Regions from separate parts of the Homo sapiens genome. Here all the other regions are linked to region 1. Evidence: promoter capture Hi-C in 16 types of primary human blood cells and fetal thymus (Javierre and others, 2016). All regions are on one chromosome and are shown on one strand. The core of a region is centred on a gene start or on the middle of the fragment in contact, and the rest is flanking DNA. Distances in the headings are between cores, read along the strand shown.

Region 1 (2,792 bases), core at 124-2,623:
ATGAACAGAACTGGCCCATGATAAGGCTTAAGAGTGACCTCACGGAGCTCATTTAATATGAAAGGAAGGCATCATGGTTTCCTGTTATGGGGGAAAAAAATGGGCTACAGGGTGCATGGGGTTCCTTCTCACGTCATCACCGGCCGTAGACCTACACATCCTGGGGCTCTCTGCACATCTCCACATCTCAGTCTAAGGCTCTGGTGGTCCCTTAATCTAGAGGATTTTTTTTTTTTTTTTGAGACAGAGTCTCACTCTGTGGCCAGGCTGGAGTGCAGTGGCGCGATCTCGGCTCACTGCAACCTCTGCCTTCTGGGTTCAAGCCATTCTCCTGCCTCAGCCTCCCGAGTAGCTGGGACTACAGGCGCGCACCACTACGCCCAGCTAATTTTTGTATTTTTAGTAGAGATGAGGTTTCACCATGTTGGCCAGGATGGTCTCCATCTTTTGACCTCGTGATCCACCCGCCTCGGCCTCCCAAAGTGCTGGGATTACAGGTGTAAGCCACCGCGCCGTCTAGAGGAATTTTGAGCCTCAGTTTTTTCGAGGACCTAGGTTTGGGGACCTGGATCTCAAGGGTCTCAGATATCTGAGTCCTTAAACTCCTTGTGCCCCGGTATTTGAGTCACCGGGGTCTTCAAGACCCTTGGGCCTTGTGGGGAGGGTGGAGGCCTCCAGATCCCTGTGTCTAGGGTGCAGACGGTTGTCTCCAGGTCTACTGGTTCTCTCAGGTGCTTTGGTGCCAGGGGTCTGCGTTTTTAACCCCCTTAGTCTCAAGGGTCTGAGTCTCTGAGCCTCTGGGCTCCTGGGTTAGGTGAGAAGGGTCTTTGGATCCTTCTGTTTAGAGTCTGGGTCTCCAGCACGCGCATCACGACAGCCCCCGCGTGCGCGCGGAGTTCCACTCCAATCCTCGAAGTCTGCTCTACGCATGCGCTATCTGCGCCTTTTACACTAGCGACCAACCCCTGCAGTTCCACCTTCAATTCCCACCCGCAACCCCGCCTCAAAGGGCAGAAATCATAGGCCCTGTAATCCCCTTAAAATCCTATAATAATCCCACAAAATCAGTTAATCAGAATACAACTACTTCGCCCATCCAGCAACCTGCCGGGTGACAGCGCGCTGCCATGACAACAGTACACGCAGCTCCGCCGCTCCCTGCGGCCGCGCGCAGGCGCAGAAAGTAAACGCGGGGGGAGGGGGAGCAGTGTATTTTGGGAGCGGCAGAAAGAGCAATGCAAGTGTTTCTGGGAGTTGTAGGCCAAGCGGGACCCCGGAGCCGTAGGCGCATCCAGCGGAAGTGTCGCATGGGCTTCTGGGAGTTCTAGGCAAGAAAGCCCCAAGACCTTATGGGAGTGGTAGTCTCGGAGTCACTTCCGGGCCAGGCTTCCGCGTGGTGGGCAGTGTGGGCATCCCAGCACTGAGTTCTGCCCGGGTGAGTATTTCCTCCTGCGGTGGGTCGGCATGTGGACTCCGGCTCTTTGTTGCGGTGCCGTGGGAGGGTTGAGGGTCTCTTCGAGCGTAAGGCCTCTGTGATTTCCCAGCGCCCGTGTCCCTGAGGCCTTGTAGCCAGGATTCCCACTTTGAACGCTGCGGTCCGGCCTGTCTCTTACCGGGCCACTCCCTTCCCCAAGACAGGATAAGACCATCTGCTTGCCCCCGCCCCTATGTTACTATCTGCCTGTCCCCGCCCCCATGCCACACATTATCTGTCCTTTTGACAAGGCTGCAATCCAGAGGCATCCCTGGGGTCCGCGGCCTCTCTTCTGGGAGCACTTATTATTCCCTCATCCTACAGATACTTACTGAGCACCGACTCTGCGCAGGGCGGCGGGAGCGAGGGCACCAGACCAACCCTGTCCCTGCCTTGAAGCAGAGAGACAGACCTGTCACCAGTGACAGCTAGTCAGGATCAGGGCAGCTCTGAGGGCCCTGGTGGAGGCGCTCGACTCAGTGACGAGGGTCCATAAAGTCTTTGAGGGAAGACGCTTAACATGCATGTCAAACCTGACGTGGCCAAATGGAATTCCTGGTCTTCTCACCTCACAAAATGGCCCCACCGTCCCTCCAATGCTCAGGCCAGAACCTCAAAGTTACCCTTCATCACTTTCTCTCGTCGTTGCCCCAGTCCCCACTCCAATCAGTCTTATACAAGTCCTGTGGGCTCCACCTTCAAAATAGATCCAAAATTTCACTTCTTCCCACCTCTACTGCCAGCACTCCTGTCTAGTGTGCTGACCTCCAGCCTTCTGTCCTTGTCCCTGACAACCAACAGTCCTCCCCACACAGCAGCCAAACGAATCCCACTTTTTTTATTTGAGACAAGGTCTCACTCTATCACCCACGCTGGAGTGCACTGGTGCGATCATGGCTCACTGCAGCCTTGACCTCCTGGGCTCAAGTGATCCTCCTGCCTTGGCTTCCTGAGTAGCTGGTACTACAGGCCTGTGCCACCAGGTGCAGCTAATTTATTTATTTATTTTTTTAGAGATGGGGTCTCGCTATGTTGACCAGTCTAGGAATCCTTTTAAAACATGCCAGATCATACCACTTTACTGTTCAAAAACCTCCCAAGGCTCCCATCTCCTCCTGAATAAACCTAAAATTCCACATCATGGCCTATGAGGCTCTGCTAACTTGTGCAGCCTTGTCCCCTGCGAGCGTCTCCCTTCCTCAGGACGTGGACCCCCCAGGACTGGGTGACTGTAGATTTAGGGGGTGAGGAGAGATGAGTCCAGGGTGACGTTACGTCCTGTCCTGCAGATGGGCTGGATGAAAGGTGGTGGCTGCTC
Region 2 (2,792 bases), core at 85-2,584, 4.5 Mb before region 1:
TAAAAATACAAAAATTAGCCGGGCATGGTGGCGGGCACCTGTAATCCCAGCTACTCAAGAGGCTGAGGCAGGAGAATCGCTTGAGCCCGGGAGGCAGAGGTTGCAGTGAGCCATGATCATGCCACTGCACTCCAGCCTGGGCGACAGAGTGAGACTCCATCTCAAAAAAAAAAAAATTATTTTAAAATCAAAAGAAAAGAAGGGAAATATAGCTTTGGAAGACCAAGGCAGAAGGATCGCTTAAGGCTAGGAGTTCAAGACCAGCCTGGGCAAGGCAAGACAGCAAGATCCCCATCTCTATAAAAGAAGAAGAAAGGAGGAGGAGGAGATAATTCAGCCTAAGTGGTGTTTATCTTTATTTTATACCAACATATCACAAAATATAATTTCATATATATTTATGAATGAAATGATCATGCTTAGGATCATGTTTAAGTATCTCCTATCCTGCCCTTTCAAGAAAACTATTTAAAGATGTTTCCAAACTCTTCCATGTCTCTTCTCAGTGGTTTGTCACAATGCTTCTACAGTGCTACACAAAAGAAAGAGAAATGGTCCAGAGAAGTGTAGTGACTTATCCAAGGTGATACCACCAGAATGACTAAACGGGGCAGCTAAGAAGAGCCCCGTCCTTGATGCTGCTGAAAACCCCGCGTTTTTGAGCTCTTTCCTCCCAAACATAACATCAGCTTGCGGGTTTTTGCGTCCTCCCAGGACCACCTGTGTTGCTGTTTACTGAATATTTTTCTCCACACTGCCTTTTTTTTTTTTTTTTTTGACAGAGTCTCTGTCACTCAGGCTGCATGCAGTGGCGAGATCATGGCTCACTGCAGCCTCGACCTCCCGGCCTCAAGCGATCCTCCCACCTCAGCCTCCCGAGTAGCTGAGAATACAGGCATGAGCCACCGCACCCGGCCTACACCGACGTTTATAAACTTGGCGTCATTACGTTGTCATGAGCAGTGCAGAGGTAATCACAAAAACGTTTACCGTGGAAACAAAGCAAAGCTTCTTCAGTTCTGCTGAGGTTCCCCTGACAGCCAGAGCCTCGAGTCGGCCTGCGTTGGTTTAGAAGGAACGTTCGGATTTGTTCCCAGGGTGTTACAGGCATCCTAGCGCCACACAGAGCGTACCCTCGGAGGGACAGACAGGTAATTAGAGAGGGAACAACTCACATTCTCCCGGGCTCAGCCGCCACGCCCCGCCCCGCCACGCCCCCTGCTGCACCACGCCCCCTCGCAGCCCCGCACTGCGCCTGCGCAGTAGCTCTTACGCCAGTTCGAGCCCCACCCCCTTTCAGAGCGAACATTGGCCTTGGGGGCGGGGCTTGGGCACAAGATGGCCGCTGCGCGCCCAGAGGCCCAGAGTCGGAGCTCACCGACTCCGGAGTCGCGATCCCAGGAGCCACTGGACCTGGTGCGGGCAAGGAAGGGGCCTGGGCGTGGGGCTCGAGGTGGGAGGAGGTCGTAGTGTGGGGGGCGGGTCCGGGGCGTGGCCTATGAGGGGGTGGGCGAGGGAGGTATTTAGTGCTATGGCCCTGGGGGTGGGGCTTCTTGTGGTTTCGCGAGGGGCGGGGCAGGGGAGGAGACTATGTCATGGTGGGCGGGGTGGGGGAGGGACCTATGGGTGGTGGGCGGGGCCTGGATGGGGGCGGAGTCTGAGGACGGTGTTGTCTTGTGGGACGGGTTTGGGTCCAGGGAAGGGGGCTTACCAGGGATAATTTGCATAATTTGGGTGGAGCCTTGTAAGGGGCGGGGCCTCATAAATTCTAGGGCTAATTCTAGGGTAGAAGGTTGGGAAGGTGACCCTGAAAAACGTGGGGGATTATGATTGGAGCACCTATGTCGGGGTAGGGGATAATTCTTCAAGGGTCTTAGTGATGCTTCTCGAATGCCCAAGGGAGAATTTGGGGGTAGAAGTGGGTGGTCTAGGTGACTTTGGAACTTCCTCCACGTTACCCCACTCAGAATTAGACTAATTGAGGACATTCATTCATTCAACAAACATTTACTGAGCTCCTACTTCGGCTCTGTAAATAGAGAAGTGACCAAGACAGACAAGGGTTGTGTTCTTTTGGAGCCTGCAGTCTCTTGAGAGGAGAGAGACAATAAAGGAGAGTTACTGTGATATGTTCTATAAAGGAAATAAAAATTGAGCCAATTTCTATAAATTGAGCCAAGAGTAGGGGTGGGGCAGCTAAATTTAGACGAGAGAAGTCAGCTGGGTGCCGGCTTATGTTTAAGCTGGGGTCAGAGAGATAAGTGGAGCTACATCGCCACAGATATTATAGTGACGATTTGGGATAAGTCATTTGGAGCCACTGGAGGGTTTTGAGTGCGAAAAATGACTTGATCTGATTTACATTTTCAAAAGACCTTCAGGCTATTCCTGGGAGGTGGGTTACAAGCCAGCAGAAATAGGAACAGAGATGCCCTTGGGTTTTTCAATTTTGGAGGCGCCAAGTGATGGGGCTTTAACTAGGGTGGAGGACAAAAGGTGGGATCCATGATATATTTTGGACAGGAGAGGAAATGTTGATGAGGATACAACAGAATCCTGGAGGATGGGCCGGGCGCGGCGGCTCACGCCTGCAATCCCAGCACTTTAGGAGGCAGAGCCAGAAGGATCTCTTGAGCCCAGTAGTTGGAGACCAGCCTGGGCAACATAGTGGGACTCCCTCTACATTAAAAATAATAATAATAATTTTTGTTTGTTTTGCTGTCTAAGATGGAGTCTTGTTCTGTCGCCTGAGCTGGAGGGCAGTGGCATGATCACATCTCACTGCAACCTCC
Region 3 (2,792 bases), core at 1-2,500, 4.0 Mb before region 1:
TTTTCGTGGCTCCCTCTGGAGTCCCGACTTGCTGGGACACCGTGGCTGGGGTAGGTGCGGCTGACGGCTGTTTCCCACCCCCAGGCCTGCATTGATGAGAACCTGGAGGTGGTGCGCTTCTTGGTGGAGCAGGGCGCCACTGTGAACCAGGCAGACAACGAGGGCTGGACGCCACTGCACGTGGCCGCCTCCTGTGGCTACCTAGATATCGCCAGGTGAGGCAAGGGAGGGCCGGGCAGGACCTGGTCGGGGTGGGGGCCTGGACCCTCAGCCCTGACCAGCCCCCACCCCCAGGTACCTCCTGAGCCACGGGGCCAACATCGCCGCCGTCAACAGTGACGGGGACCTGCCCCTGGACCTGGCCGAGTCGGACGCCATGGAGGGGCTGCTGAAGGCGGAGATCGCCCGCCGAGGTGGGCTCTGGTGTGCTGTGTGTGGGGTGGGGGACACCTCCTCACCCGTGGTCTCCAGGCTGAGAGCTTTAGAGGCGGCCTGGGCACCGAGGCTGACCCTGCTTCCTAGGATTGTCTTTCTTTGTGCCTCAGTTTCCTCACCTGTGAAATGGGGGTGTAGGGGCCTGCCTCCAGGATTGCTTGGAGCCCAGCACACGCACAGGATGAGAACTCAAACCCCTACCAACTGGGACTGTCAATCCCCCTGAGTAACTGAGGGGATTGGAATGCCGGGGCGGGGTGGGTGGGTGGAGGGACTCACCCAGGAGTGCGTTAGGTAGGATTGCTGGAACCCTGCCGCAGGTCTTTCTGGGAGGGGATGCGTTTACTTGGGGGGGAGTAGGGGCATGCAGGGGTTGCCAGGGACTGGTCTCCCTGTCCTCTGAGACTCATCGTACCCCAGGAGCCTTCATATGGGGTCCAGGAGCCCCTGAAACTGTGTCTGGCCAGGTTCATTTTTCTAGGGAAGGGGTGTTGCTTCTAGCAGGTGTGTGATGGCCACACAGGATCCCTGGGTCCCCAGCATGTCTTCTAAAGTCCTGGGCTTGCCTCCCAGCTCTGCCTGTGACTGGTGACTCCAGGCACGTCCCTGAAGCTTGCTTCCCTGATTTCCTAAAACAGGACCACTGGTGCCGCTTCATGGGGTGGTTGTCAGGGTCTGGCTGGGTTGGAGTGGAAGGGTGTGAGCATGGTTCCCGGCAGACTCCAGGGGACCGTGTGGAAGGAAAGGGAGACTGACGAGGAAATGAGATACCGGCAGCCTCCGAGACTTCTGACGCGGCTGTCCTGACGGGGCCGCTGGCCAGGCTGAAAGGATAGGATTCCGCGTGGGTTCAGGGGTCCACGAGAGCCATGCGGGAGGACTAGCTAGTGGGACACGTGACGGCGGAGATCTGAGGTTCGGGAGCCCCTCTTTGGTTGAAATGGGGAGTGGGTCAAATCAGCCCTGGACCTGGATTCTGTCTCCTTCCTCCTCCAACTTTTTATTTTGGGAAAGCTTCAGATTTACAGAAAAGTTGAAGCAATAGCATGTGACTACCCATATGACTTTCACTAAGATTCGCCAGTGCTTTTTCTTTTTTGTTTTTGTTTTTTAGACAGCTTTTTGAGATGTAATTCACCTACCCTACAATTCACCCAAAGTGCACACTTCAGTGCTTTTTAGTCTATTCACGGGGTCGGGCATTTATGACCACATTGGTTGTAGAACATTTTCATCATCCCCCAACGAAACCCTGCAACCGCTTAGCCATCACCCCCAACCATGCACCCCCCCCTCCCCCCCACCCCACGAAGCCCTCTCTGCCTTCTGTCTGTGGATTTGCTGTTTTGTACACTTCACATAAAGGGAATCATACAGTATAGAATCATCAGCTTTTAACTTTTTGATAGATTTGTGTTCCTTCTCTCTGTCCCTCCCTTGCGATCTCTTCCCAGGTATAGACATAAACACATTTTTTCCTATCCTTTCTCCTCCTGTTTTTTTCCCTCCATCTCTCCCTTCCTTTCTTACCACCCCACCCCTGCCTTTCCATTCCTGAGCCTTTTTTTTTTTTTTGAAACAGAGTTTCACTTTTTGCCCAGGCTGGAGTGCAATGGCATGATTTCGGCTCACTGCAACCTCCACCTCCTGGGTTCAAGCGATTCTCCTGCCTCAGCTTCTGGGTAGCTGAGATTACAGGCGTGAGCCAGCATGCCCAGCTAATTTTGCATTTTTAATAGAGATGGGGTTTCACCATGTTGACCAGGCTGGTCTCCAACTCCTGACCTCAGGCGATCTGCTGGCCTCGGCCTCGCAAAGTGTTGGGATTACAGGCGTGAGCCCGGCCATTCTGAGACTGTGTTGCAGGCATTGTACATCTTCGCCTGATGCACAGCAGGTATCTCCTGCCACAAGGAAAACCTCCTGCAGAACCACAGTAGGGATGCAACACGCTACCCCCTGTGTTGACCTTGATGCTACACTCTCACCCACCGCACCAACCTTGATGCTACACTCTCACCCACCGCACCAACCTTGATGCTACACTCTCACCCACCGCACCAACCTTGATGCTACACTCTCACCCACCGCACCAACCTTGATGCTACACTCTCACCCACCGCACCAACCTTGATGCTACACTCTCACCCACTGCACCAACCTTGATGCTACACTGTTGCCTGCGTTTCTCCTTGACATTCTTTGTAGCCTCTCCCGCTCTGGTTCAGGGCCCAGCTAGGGATCCAGATCTGGGTGATTTAGGCTCCCTCTGTCTGGATCAGTCCTCCTTTTCCCTTGGACCCCAGGGAGGCCGGGAATGGCCTCCAGGGGGTCTGTGAACTTTCTGACGTTGTATT
Region 4 (2,792 bases), core at 101-2,600, 3.4 Mb before region 1:
GTACACTACAGTCTCCAGGGCAGCTGCACCCCCACCTCACCGTGGCCAAGGTGCCCCATGGTTCCCAGGTCCACCTCCCCAAGCTGGAGTTCACCCTCAGCCAGGAAGTGGGGTGCCAGCCCCTGCAGACACTCTGGCTGTGCCGTATAGGGAGGACAGGGGGGCCTTTCCAGCCCCTGGCTGAGATCCCCCTGGAGTGACACCCCCAGACCTCTGGAGGAGACAATGGATGCAAACAGCCCACACAGGAAAGACAAAGCAGGAGCGTGCACGCTCTCTCTTTCTCTCTTTAATTTTGGTTTCTCTCAAGCTTCCAAATGGTGCTCAGTGCTCCAAGGAAAGGAAGGAAGGAAGGAAAAGGAGGGGAGAGGAGGGGAAGGGGAGGCAGAGGAGGAACATCTGGAAAAAAAGCAGCCTGACAGTCCAGCTGTTTGCAAACTCATAGCACATCCTCCAGTTACATGGCAGAAGAGGGAGGGAGGGAGGGCCAAAAAGAAAAGGGAGAGGAGGAAGAAAAATAACTTAAATAAACACACACACAAAGAAAAGAGAAGGCAACATGACGTGAGCTGGTGATCCATGAAGGCAGGGAGGGAGGGGAACCGTTTTACCTGTGCTGAACCAAGGGAAGAATGCGGAGAGGGAGGGAGGGAAAGGGGAAAAAAAAATCAGAAGAAACACTGGGGGCAGAGGGAGGAGGGGACACGGAGACAACTTTATACAACTTGAGACGAGGCGGCCCGGCCGGCGTGTCCTCAGTGCGGTGTGGCGGCGGAGGATCTGGTGCTGGTGGTGCTGGCACTTCAGGGTGGGGGGCCGAGGACGGGCACAGTCTCTAAGCAGCTCCCCCACCCCAAACACGGAGGCCCCAAGGGGCTGGGAACAAGAGTCTGTGGCGAAGCAGGTGAGGCAGCGGGCGGTGGGCGGGCTTGCTGGGTGCCCCCGCCGCAGGCGGGCACGGGCTGGACGGCCTGTCTTCTTTCCACTGGCCCCCCGGCATGGGATGGGCCAGGGCGCCGGGTCGGGTACCGGAGTGCAAGCTCGAAAGAGAGAGAGAGAAAACACTGAGACAGCATTAGTGGAGTGAAAGGCGGACACAGATGAGCCTGCAGACCATGCCCCCAACCCTCCGCTGCCCATCCCCTCCTCCCCAATCCCATCCCTCTGAGGCAAAAAATAAAAACGTAGAAAAATCTCTGTACAGACTCCCCGGTGGGAAAACGGGGGCAGGGATGGTGGCTCTTCCTGGAGCGCACTCCCCACAAATAAATTTACAACCCAAGTCCACGGCTCAAAAACAGAATCCGCAAAGGCAGCGCTGGGGGCTGCAGCCCCTGCCCCCGCCCCTCCTCGCTGGGTGCTCAGAAGGCTGACAGCTGCGCCAGGCTGAGGCGGCAGTCGATGCTGGAGTTGTCCGGGCCCGTGTAGGCCAGGCCCAGGGGCTCTAGGAAGGCCCGGCAGGCGGCCTCGCCCTCGAAGGCCAGCTCGGCCTGCAGGTAGGAGACTGGCAGCGCAGGGCGGAAGCTATGGAGACAAGAGGAGAAGGTGATGAGGCGGGCGGGCGGGAGGGCAGGGGAGGGCCCCACGAGCGGGGAGGCCCCCCCATTCGGGTGCCCACAGGATTTCCTCAGCACAGTGCCTGCTGGCTCCCCACCCGCCTCCCAGCCTCCCCACCTCAGGGGCTCGGGGGGGGCCCGGGGGGGGTTAGTGACCCCAGTCCCCTGTGCCCCCCTCACCCTCACTTACCTGTGCGGGGGCCAGGGAGGAGCGGGGACGGGCAGGGAAGGGCCCAGCGGGCTCCTCCGCTGGCTGAGGGGCAGGGACCAGATGGAGGGAGCAGCACGTGGCAGGGGATGGGGATGGCGGGGCTGCCAGGGCCACCGTGGGGACCCAGCCCTCGCTGCCTCCCCTGCCCTGCGTTACAGTGTCTGGGAAGCCAGGCGCAGGGGTGCCAGCTAGCACTCACCACTACACACTGAAAGCAGTCACTTCCGGCTGCTGCTAAAACACACTACTGACTGAGCATCTAGCACGAGCCAGGTCCTCAGAGCTCCCTGAACCCTCTTCCACAGGGTGCAGCCCTACCCTTTCCACACACACAGGAACCCAGGCACCGAGTGAGGGGCACTAAGTCCTAGAACCCGCTTCTGCTCCAAAGCCAGAGCTTTCCTGGAAGCCCTGGGATCAGAGCCCACTCCGTCTCCCAGTCTCAGCTGGCAGGGCAGGGTCAGCCTCCTTGGGGGGAAGGTGCTGACACAATGAGGTCAATGACAGACTGGCGCCCCACCCACGAGGGGCACTCATGGCTATGTTCCCAACCAAGGCCAATTAGGTATCAATTAACAAGGACACTCGCCCAACCACACACCCCTGTGTAGCACAGAAGCTTGAGAGCCACCATTCATGGGGCCCATCATGGCAGCAGACTAAGCAGCCTCCTGCCTCCCCTTCCTTCTAACTTCCCAAGCTGGTCATGGAGCTCTGTGCACGGCACCCCACATCCTCGTCTGCTCCTGTGACTCCTACCCTGGCTCAGCCTCTCCCTGAAGTTGGCTTGACCCACACTAGATTCCAGAATGAGTCTCCAAACCTCCAGGCTGACAGTCCCTCCCTAGCTCCAAACTATGCTGTGACCATGACCTCACACGGAGGGCCACCTGGCCAGGCTCTCAAGGCCTCCATGCTGTGACCATGACCTCACGTGGAGGGCCACCTGGCCAGGCTCTCAAGGCCCCCATGCTGTGACCACAACCTCACGTGGAGGGCCACCTGGCCAGGCTCTCAAGGCCTCC
Region 5 (2,792 bases), core at 215-2,714, 3.3 Mb before region 1:
TCACGGAGTCCTCCCAGCTCCGCCTCAGTCTTCCCTCCCTGTCCCGTGGTCTAGAAACTTGCAACAGGACCCAGCGGCAATTTTAGGGCTTGCCTTGATGTTTCCCGTTCCTCAGGGATCACTTTCTTGGTAGAGTCTTGACCACTGTTGTTTTCTTGTATTTACTCTATTTTTGGGGGGTCAAGTCCAGTCTCTGTGACTCCATCCTGGTCGCAGTGGAAGCCCCCATAGGTAACATTCTAAAAATAACACTGGATTTTCCTTTTGTAAAGTTTGGGTAAAATGCCTTTTTTTTTTTTTTTTTTTTTTTTGAGACGGAGTCTTGCTCTGTCGCCCAGGCTGGAGTGCAGTGGCGCGATCTCGGCTCACTGCAAGCTCCGCATCCCGGGTTCAGGTGATTCTCCTGCCTCAGCCTCCTGAGTAGCTGGGATTGCAGGCGCCCGCCACCATGCCCGGCTAATTTTTGTGTTTAGTAGAGATGGGGTTTCACCGTGTTGGCCAGGCTGGTCTCAAACTCCTGACCTCAGGTGATCGCCTGCCCCAGCCTCCCACAGTGCTGGGATTACAGGCGTGAGCCAGGGTGCCCGGCCAACTTCTTGTTGAGAGATCACCCCCAGGCTCATTGGCATGGGAGATCAAGCAGCTGAGTCTCAAGGTACTTTGCAGCCGCCCAACAGCCAGCGGATGCCTGTGCTTGGGAAATGGGCTCAGGGGCACTAGAGGGCAGTGTTTGAGAGGAAAGAAGTCAGCATAGCAGCAGGGCCGGGCCTGGGGCAGACAGCCCACATGGTTAGGAAAAAGTGAGTGAACGCATGTGGCCCCCAGAACCCCTCCCTGAAATTGCAGTTGATTTTTATTCCCACCGTCAGGCCCACATATCTAAAGCTTCCTCTGAACGCTCCTTGCAGTACACAAAATAGAAATGATTGACAGGCACAGAGCAGCAGCAGGCCCCACGCTGTACACCAGCATCTGGCACTGTGGGTCACCAAGCACCAACTCGATCCCCTCGGAGCCAGGTGTGTGTTGAGATTCAGGATTTTTCAGTTGCAAAGGCAATATGATCTCTACTCCACAGGGCACACGGCACCCTCAGTGCTCAGCACAGCAGTGTGCAGCAGCCTGGTTAACTTTTCTGCAGGGAAGTATGTGAACGTTCACACCAAGCGTGTCAGTCATGTCTGTAAGTCATCTCCCACCAACACAGGTCAGGTTTTCCTGCCCAATGAGCTTGGGGATGGCTTGACTTTGGAGCTCTTTGGATCTGTGGATTTTGGAATTTTGGATTTCTGATACCCGTTTGATCAAAGAGGCAACCGAGGTCTAACGGGTCAAGTGACTTTCCCATATCCGTGAAGGTCATGAAAAGCAGGGCCAGGATGGTGGCCTGGGGTGCCTTGAATGATAAGCTGGGCCCTTCACTGTGCAGGCCCCTCTCCTTCAGTCCACTCTGCCACTGCTGTCTGCCACACCCTGCTCTGATAGCTCCTCTCTGCCAGGCTTTTCCCTCACATCCTCAACTCAGCCAAGAGCTGGTTTCTTCCAGAGAGCCCTGCTGTGCAGTCAGTTATTGGACTTCTCTTTTTGTGCATGTTTGTTTTCAGGGTTTAGCTGATCAAAGTGGTATCGTTGTAACAGGCAGCTCTAAATAGAAGTCTTCAGAAGCCTGTGTGTCTTTTTCTGTAAATCAATTCCCAAAAGCAGGATTGTTGGGGCATGGGGTGTATGCAGTTTTGATCTGATCACATACAAGCGCATTTTTTTTTTTTTTCAAGGGATGGTGGCAGCTCACAGCCTCAGGAGAAGTGTTTTGAGTGCCTGTTCCTCTAGGTCCTCGCCCGCCCAGGACATCACCACTCTTGTTAATTTCATTGTGTCTAGGTAGTGAAAAAGTGTAGTTTCTCATTCTTTCAAATTGCATTTCCCAATTATTAGAGTTTGAATCTTTTTGTCTGTTTACTGATGTTGGAATTTTTATTGAGTATTCAACTCAATTGATTACTTTTAAATGGGTTGTCTTTTTCTTAGTTTATGAAAGCTTTTGTAGATTATATCTTTTAAGAATAACATTTCTGCATCATAACTGTTAACATACACACACACACACACACACACACACACACACACACACGCACGCACACACTCACTGTTCCCCAGTCTGTCAATTTGCCATTTGACTTTACGGTATGTTTTTCAATCTATAATTTGCCAACTAAGCTATCTTTTCCTTTCTGGTTTTATGATCTCCTGCTTAAACTCCTCCCTCCCCATTTTCCCTACCCAGATACATGACATGCAGACAATATACAAATATTCTCCTAATTTCTCTGGTTTGTTTTGTTTTGTTTTGTTTTTTTCTGAGATGGAGTCTCACTTGATCTCCCAGGCTGGAGTACAGTGGTGCAACCTCCACCTCCCGGGTTCAAGCAATTCTCCTGCCTCAGCCTCCCGAGTAGCTGGGCTTACAGACCTGTGCCACCATGCCCAGCTAATTTTTTTTTTCTTTAAGTAGAGACGGGGTTTCACCATGTTGGCCACTCTGCTCTCAAACTCCTGGCCTCAAGGGATCCACCCACCTTGGCCTCTCAAAATGCTGGGATTACAGTCATGAGCCACCGCAGCCAGCCTCTCTCTGTTTTTTGTCTTTTTTTTTTTTTTTTTTTAAGAGGCAGGGTCTTGGCCGGGCGCGGTGGCTCACGCCTGTATTCCCAGCACTTTGGGAGGCCGAGACGGGCGGATCACGAGGTCAGGAGATCGAGACCATCTTGGCTAACACGGTGAAACCCCGTTTC
Region 6 (2,792 bases), core at 1-2,500, 3.1 Mb before region 1:
AAAAATACCACTCGTCTCTCCCCTGATGACAGAAGTTTCTGGTAAAGATGTGTGTTCACTACTGTAGAATAGTACTGAGAGGCCAGGGACCACTAGCTGGTAGGCACTCCCAAGTGAGTGAGCCTCCCAGGGAAGGCTGCATGTTTAGAGCAGGGGAAAGAGTCAAGGATGAGAGACCCCCACACACCAATTGTAAAGCGCTGATCCTGTTTATTTGGCAGGAAAACGAGACAATCCAGCAGCCCAGGAGGGACAGGTGGACTTAATCCTCCTCCTCGTCGTCTCCAGCCCCAGCCCCACCCTGGCCCTTCTTGGCATTCTTCCTCTTCACGCGGCCCGGGCGGCCACCCCCGTAGGGAGAGCGCAGAGAGAAGTCGATGTGCTTCTGGGAATCCAGGCGGACAATGAAGGACGGGATGTTCACCACCTGCTTGCGGACCCTGGAAGCAGCGACAAGGTGAGGTGGACTGGAGGAGAAACGGACGCTAACCCCAGCTACCGCACCACTCTTTCCTCTCCACCCACCCCGTGAGGCCGCCACGGCTGCAGACACCAAGGCGCTGCAGGAAGGGTGCACCTGATCCTACGTGCGCCCTCCGGGGTTTTAGGGTATCACCTTAATCCCCAAAAATGCTTCAGATGACTTTCTCAACCCCATTTTATAGGAGAAATCCGAAAGTATCCCACCTAAGACCACAAAGCAAATGAGATGGCCATGTGAGAGCCCCCAAGTTCCGAGTCTGAAATATCGTGAACCCCACACCTGACACTGAGCTGTATTACCACGTGCAGCAGCAATGCCCACAATAACACAGCAACCCGAGGCTACGTCTCCGACGAAAGCATTGACACACAAGGCTCTGCCTACGGCTCACAGGGTTAGTGAAGGGCTGGGGCGAAGATTCTAAACGCAAACATCTTGCCCTCTTTCTGTACAGCTCCTCCCCCTCAATGGTGCCACATTACAGAAAGGGCACACTGAGTACCCAGAACGCAGTCATGGATCGGGGTCTGGAATCAACTTCACAAGCGGGCCAGGAGACAGCTGAACCCACCACCCAAGCGAGGTGAGGCTGGTTCTCTCCCTCCACTGGGGACACCAAGAGCTGTTACCTGTCCAGCTGCCCACATGCCTGGCAGAGGCCTTCACAAGGTGTACGGCTAGAGCCGCAGTGACCCTTGCGCTGGGCTATTGGGGCAAGAGGCTGCCCCAGCTCCCTGGTGAGCTGTGTGCAAGGGTGAATCTGTACCCTCTGGGTGAGTTCACACCCATCACCTCCGAGGGCTGCATAGGAGATAGGGACAGCAGGCTTAGTGAGGGCAACCATCAGAGGGGCAGGTGGAGGAAGATTCAGGTGCCCATCCGAGGTGGTACCTGATATGGCGCTGGCGGATCAGCACGCGAGCGTGGTGGATGGACTTGGCCAAGCCCAGCTTGAAGACCTGGGTCTGCAGGCGTCTCTCTAAGAAATCCTCTATCTTCAGGCCCAGGATGTAATCCAGCTTCATCTTGCCCTCATCCAGCACCCCAATGCGGACCAGCCGCCGCAGCAGGGCGTTGCCTGGGAAGAGTGGGAGGAAACACTGATTCCGCCTTCTGACCTCAGGCTTCTTGGGTTCAAATCCTGGCTCCGCCTCTTGGTAGCTCCATGCCGCGGCGGTGAGGCACAAGTAGTACAGCGCCATCACCGTGACCCATGTCACTGTCAAAACCACCCTACGGGCTGGGAGTGGTGGCTCACACCTGTAATCCCAGCACTTTGGGAGTCCGAGACGGATCACTTGAGGTCAGGAGTTTGAGAGACCAGCCCGGCCAACATGGCGAAAGCCCGTCTCCACTAAGATTACGAAAAATTAGCCAGGCCGTTGGCGCACTGCCTGTAATCCCAGCTATTCAGGAGGCTGAGGAAGGAAAACTGCTTGAACCCAGGAGGCGGAGGTTGCAGTGACCTGAGATGGGGCCACTGCACTCCAGCCTGGGCGACAGAGTGAGGCCCTGTCACAAAACAAAACAATACAAAAAACCAAACTACCCTATGGTTGTCAGGTCATCATTCATAGTAAACTGCAGATGACAGGAGGGCAAAATACACCTGCCTCCTCATCTGAGAGCATACATCCCTCGCTCCACATTCTTAGCAAGAGTAAAGGAAATCACCTCCTTACAAGGACTCAGTCTGCAAAAGACCAAATGCAGCTGCTATTAAGCTACTACCACCGTAACAAAGCACAGTGCTGAAGAGTTCATATCCTCAGCCCAGACAGCTCTTCTGATTAAGCAGATGTGAGATTGAATCACATTCCGTGCCATAAATAGCAGTATCTACATCTTTTAAGGAGAGAAAAGTAATTTCTAACACTAGAATTTTTCCAGCTAGGTACATGTCATTCATTTTACTATTCTGTACAAAATTTTCCACCAAAAATATATCTAGTATGTATATAACCTAACAATGCACTGCATAAAATATCCAACAGATGCCCTACTACACCTTTCTTCCAACCCCAGGCTCAGGACGGCTTGCTCCTTACCCTGTCCAAAGCCATGGCTTCTAGCTAATACTCTGGACTGCCCTTGCCCACAGCCCCAGGGCCCTGGGGGCAAACGCCATCCCCTAGGCTCCCGCTCACTGCTATAATCCCACACGCCTTCAGCAAATCAACTGCCCCTTGACTGGGGTAAACACCTCAACCTTTTTTCCTTATGTGCACTTTTATAAAAAGTGGCTCTTACTAGTTACAGCAAACCATTCAAGCAAGCTTTCATAAATAGATCTACATGCATCAGGCAC
Region 7 (2,792 bases), core at 1-2,500, 3.1 Mb before region 1:
ACAGTGGCCTCAGCTCTCCGTTCTCGACTATTGCCGAAGTGAGCCGAAGTTTGTGGCCCCGCTTCCGGAGAACTCAAGCTCCCGATTGTGCCCGAAGGAACCCGAAGGGAGACCCCGCCTCATTCCTCACGCCGAGCTCCAGACCCCGCCTCCTTTCCAGAGCCCGTCTGTTCCCCTTCGGGTCCAAAGCTTTTGGCTCCTCCTTGTTCCGAGCCCGAAGGCCCGCCCCTTCACGTACTCGGAGCTCGGATCCCAGTGTGGACCTGGACTCGAATCCCGTTGCCGACTCGCGCTCTCGGCTTCTGCTCCGGGGCTTCTTCCCTGCCCGCCCGGGGCCCTGACCGTGGCTTCTTCCCCGGCCTGATCTGCGCAGCCCGGCGGGCGCCCAGAAGGAGCAGGCGGCGCGGGGGCGCGCTGGGCGGGGGAGGCGTGGCCGGAGCTGCGGCGGCAAGCGGGCTGGGACTGCTCGGCCGCCTCCTGCCCGGCGAGCAGCTCAGGTGGGCCAGGGTGGCGGCGCCCAGTGGCGAGGCGAGGTTACACGGCGGCAGGGTCTCTGCGGGCTGGCGGGTGCGGGGCGGCCCCGGAGGCGCGTTGGAACTCGGGGCTGGCGCAACCGCCTGTGGCTCTGCCGGGGATGCGCTGGGGTGCGCGGGACGGGTTGGGGCTGGGCCTGGGCCTGGGCCTGGGGAGGGGAGGGTGTTCGATCCCCGGGTTCTCAGTAGGAGAGGGGTGTGGAGCTCCGAAGGAGGTGCAGGTTGGAGACCCGGGCTCCTCTGGGTGGTCTCGAAGGAGAAGGGCTGGGGGGTCCGGATATCTGGTTTCACAAGGGCCGGGGGATGGGGGATCCAAAGAGGGGGTCTGGGTTCCTGGATCCTCGCTGGAAGAGGGGGCTCGGAGGTCTAGATTCCTGGGCTGTCGAAGAGGAAGGGTCCGGGAGGGGTGCCGTTTCTGGGTTTTTAAAAGAGGGGCGTCTTCAAATCTGGGTCCCCAGTATGGGTGCGGGGAGTAGCTTTGATTTCTGCGTTCGCAAAGGAGGGGCTTGGGTGCTGGGAGATCCCCACACTTTCCTGGGTTCTCCAAGGACAGGAGAGCTGGAGGCCTGTGCGCTCAAAGGAGGGGCTGGGGGTGGATTCCTGTCTCCTCCAAGGAGGAAGGGGCTGGAGTCTGGGTTGCTAGGTTCTCAAAGGAGAGGAGCTGAGGCTCATACTCCATCATCCTCAAAAACTGGGGTCTAGAAGGCTGGGTTCCTGGATCCTCGAAGAGGGAGGAGGCAGGGGGCCTGGATTCCTGGGTTCTCACTGTGAATCTCTGCCCCTCCCCCAGACCATGTCGCCTGAAGAATGGACGTATCTAGTGGTTCTTCTTATCTCCATCCCCATCGGCTTCCTCTTTAAGAAAGCCGGTGAGTCAGGCTCCCTCCCCAGTGGAAAATAAAGGGGGGGGACCCTCTGGAAGGTTCCAGGCTTATGCTGTCCCTTCCCCCTGCAGGTCCTGGGCTGAAGAGATGGGGAGCAGCCGCTGTGGGCCTGGGGCTCACCCTGTTCACCTGTGGCCCCCACACTTTGCATTCTCTGGTCACCATCCTCGGGACCTGGGCCCTCATTCAGGCCCAGCCCTGGTGAGAATTTGGTGGAGGGAGGAGAGGGAGAGGAGGGGAGAGGGGGAAGCAACCTGTTTCCTCTTTGAGTCTTTTTCAGCTTCTGCCTCATGTCTAGCTGTCTCTTGTTGATCAGCTCATTTCTCTGTTTCATGTTTGTTTGTTTGTCTTTCTTTCTTTCTTTCTTTCTTTCTTTCTTTCTTTCTTTCTTTCTTTCTTTCTGAGATGGAGTTTCGCTCCTGTTGCCCAGGCTGCAGTTCAGTGGCACGATCTTGGCTCACTGCAACCTCCACCTCCCGGGTTCAAGCGATTCTCTTGCCTCAGCCTCCCAAGTAGCTGGGATTACAGGCATGCTCCACCATGCCTGGCTAATCTTGAATTTTTAATAGAGCTGGGGTTTCTCCATGTTGGTCAGGCTGATCTCGAACTCCTGACCTTGTGATCTGCCCACCTCAGCCTTCCAAAGTGCTGGGATTACAGGCGTGAGCCACCGCATCCGGCCTTCATCTGCTTTTCTTTCTCCCCTGCCTTCTGCGTCTGGTCCCTGTGTGTTTGTCCCAGTCCGCTACATCCATGTCATGGAGAGAGGTGGACAGTGTGTCTGCTGGCCTGGCCACCGTTCATATTCATTCATATCCACCTCTCTCTTCTTGAGCCCTGGACCTCGGAAATAAAGAAAAAGTGGAGGATTGCAGGGTCTTCACCCGAAGCTTCTCTTAACCTCATTCTCTGTTGGTGTGTGTTTCTATGTGGCTGAGCCTCTTCTCCCACTGTTTCAATCATACTCATTCGGTCCCTACATCCACCCTCCTGTCCTCTCTGCCCTTCTGTGTTTCTGTCTCTAAACGAATGGGGAGAGCTGGGGGAGGATTGGTGGCTGGACTCGTGGAGTGAGTGGCCAAGGCCGAGACTTCTGTGCCCAACACAGTGCGCCTCCTGCTTTTGCCCAGCTCCTGCCACGCCCTGGCTCTGGCCTGGACTTTCTCCTATCTCCTGTTCTTCCGAGCCCTCAGCCTCCTGGGCCTGCCCACTCCCACGCCCTTCACCAATGCCGTCCAGCTGCTGCTGACGCTGAAGGTCAGACTCGGGGCTTGCCACTCCCCTCCAGCCTCCCTGTGGGCCCCTTCACCTCCCACTTTACCTCCCCCTTCAGTGGCTCCCCGGGATTTTACCTCCAACACACCCTGGGGGTGGG

The links. Contacts are between HindIII fragments. The CHiCAGO score rates a contact against its expected background, and 5 or more counts as called.
Region 2: the fragment with the promoter of ZNF784 here is called in contact with the fragment with the promoter of CTU1 in region 1 in 3 of 17 cell types (total CD4 T cells, naive CD8 T cells and activated CD4 T cells); the score reaches 5.5 in total CD4 T cells.
Region 3: a fragment that was not itself captured here is called in contact with the fragment with the promoter of CTU1 in region 1 in 1 of 17 cell types (activated CD4 T cells); the score reaches 6.6 in activated CD4 T cells.
Region 4: a fragment that was not itself captured here is called in contact with the fragment with the promoter of CTU1 in region 1 in 1 of 17 cell types (naive CD4 T cells); the score reaches 5.4 in naive CD4 T cells.
Region 5: a fragment that was not itself captured here is called in contact with the fragment with the promoter of CTU1 in region 1 in 2 of 17 cell types (naive CD8 T cells and naive CD4 T cells); the score reaches 6.9 in naive CD8 T cells.
Region 6: a contact is called between a fragment that was not itself captured here and the fragment with the promoter of CTU1 in region 1, in 2 of 17 cell types (non-activated CD4 T cells and activated CD4 T cells). The highest score is 5.6, in non-activated CD4 T cells.
Region 7: a fragment that was not itself captured here is called in contact with the fragment with the promoter of CTU1 in region 1 in 1 of 17 cell types (naive CD4 T cells); the score reaches 5.1 in naive CD4 T cells.

The regions. Positions count from the first base shown.
Region 1 is chr19:51,106,990-51,109,781 of GRCh38, reverse strand. It overlaps CTU1 (cytosolic thiouridylase subunit 1), which reads left to right and starts at 1,373. Exons shown (of 3, transcript NM_145232.4): 1 at 1,373-1,435. RefSeq lists an enhancer at 1,078-1,407. The HindIII fragment of the contact is 4,633 bases long and covers 1-2,792 here.
Region 2 is chr19:55,623,108-55,625,899 of GRCh38, reverse strand. ZNF784 (zinc finger protein 784) reads left to right here and starts at 1,334. Exons shown (of 2, transcript NM_203374.2): 1 at 1,334-1,416. The coding sequence starts at 1,339. RefSeq lists enhancers at 954-1,103, 854-1,353 and silencers at 1,174-1,233, 1,304-1,353. The HindIII fragment of the contact is 2,172 bases long and covers 1,011-2,792 here.
Region 3 is chr19:55,110,088-55,112,879 of GRCh38, reverse strand. PPP1R12C (protein phosphatase 1 regulatory subunit 12C) reads left to right here. Exons shown (of 22, transcript NM_017607.4): 2 at 85-215; 3 at 295-413. Among named protein-coding and RNA genes, the nearest start is that of PPP1R12C, 6.2 kb to the left of the region's middle. The HindIII fragment of the contact is 402 bases long and covers 1,050-1,451 here.
Region 4 is chr19:54,459,498-54,462,289 of GRCh38, reverse strand. It overlaps LENG8 (leukocyte receptor cluster member 8), which reads right to left. Exons shown (of 16, transcript NM_052925.4): 16 at 274-1,524. The coding sequence ends at 1,362. LENG9 (leukocyte receptor cluster member 9) reads left to right here. Exons shown (of 1, transcript NM_001301782.2): 1 at 1-558. The coding sequence ends at 200. Among named protein-coding and RNA genes, the nearest start is that of LENG9, 2.9 kb to the left of the region's middle. The HindIII fragment of the contact is 2,076 bases long and covers 313-2,388 here.
Region 5 is chr19:54,437,540-54,440,331 of GRCh38, reverse strand. No RefSeq gene overlaps it. Among named protein-coding and RNA genes, the nearest start is that of LENG8-AS1, 10 kb to the left of the region's middle. The HindIII fragment of the contact is 1,153 bases long and covers 888-2,040 here.
Region 6 is chr19:54,205,046-54,207,837 of GRCh38, reverse strand. RPS9 (ribosomal protein S9) reads right to left here. Exons shown (of 5, transcript NM_001013.4): 4 at 1,376-1,562; 5 at 191-440. The coding sequence ends at 263. Among named protein-coding and RNA genes, the nearest start is that of RPS9, 5.6 kb to the right of the region's middle. RefSeq lists enhancers at 1-488, 489-996, 1,504-2,012. The HindIII fragment of the contact is 3,025 bases long and covers 1-2,762 here.
Region 7 is chr19:54,187,043-54,189,834 of GRCh38, reverse strand. MBOAT7 (membrane bound acylglycerophosphatidylinositol O-acyltransferase MBOAT7) reads left to right here and starts at 255. Exons shown (of 8, transcript NM_024298.5): 1 at 255-497; 2 at 1,324-1,402; 3 at 1,489-1,618; 4 at 2,548-2,674. The coding sequence starts at 1,327. It also overlaps a transcript of TSEN34 not described here. RefSeq lists enhancers at 1-241, 242-927. The HindIII fragment of the contact is 2,118 bases long and covers 192-2,309 here.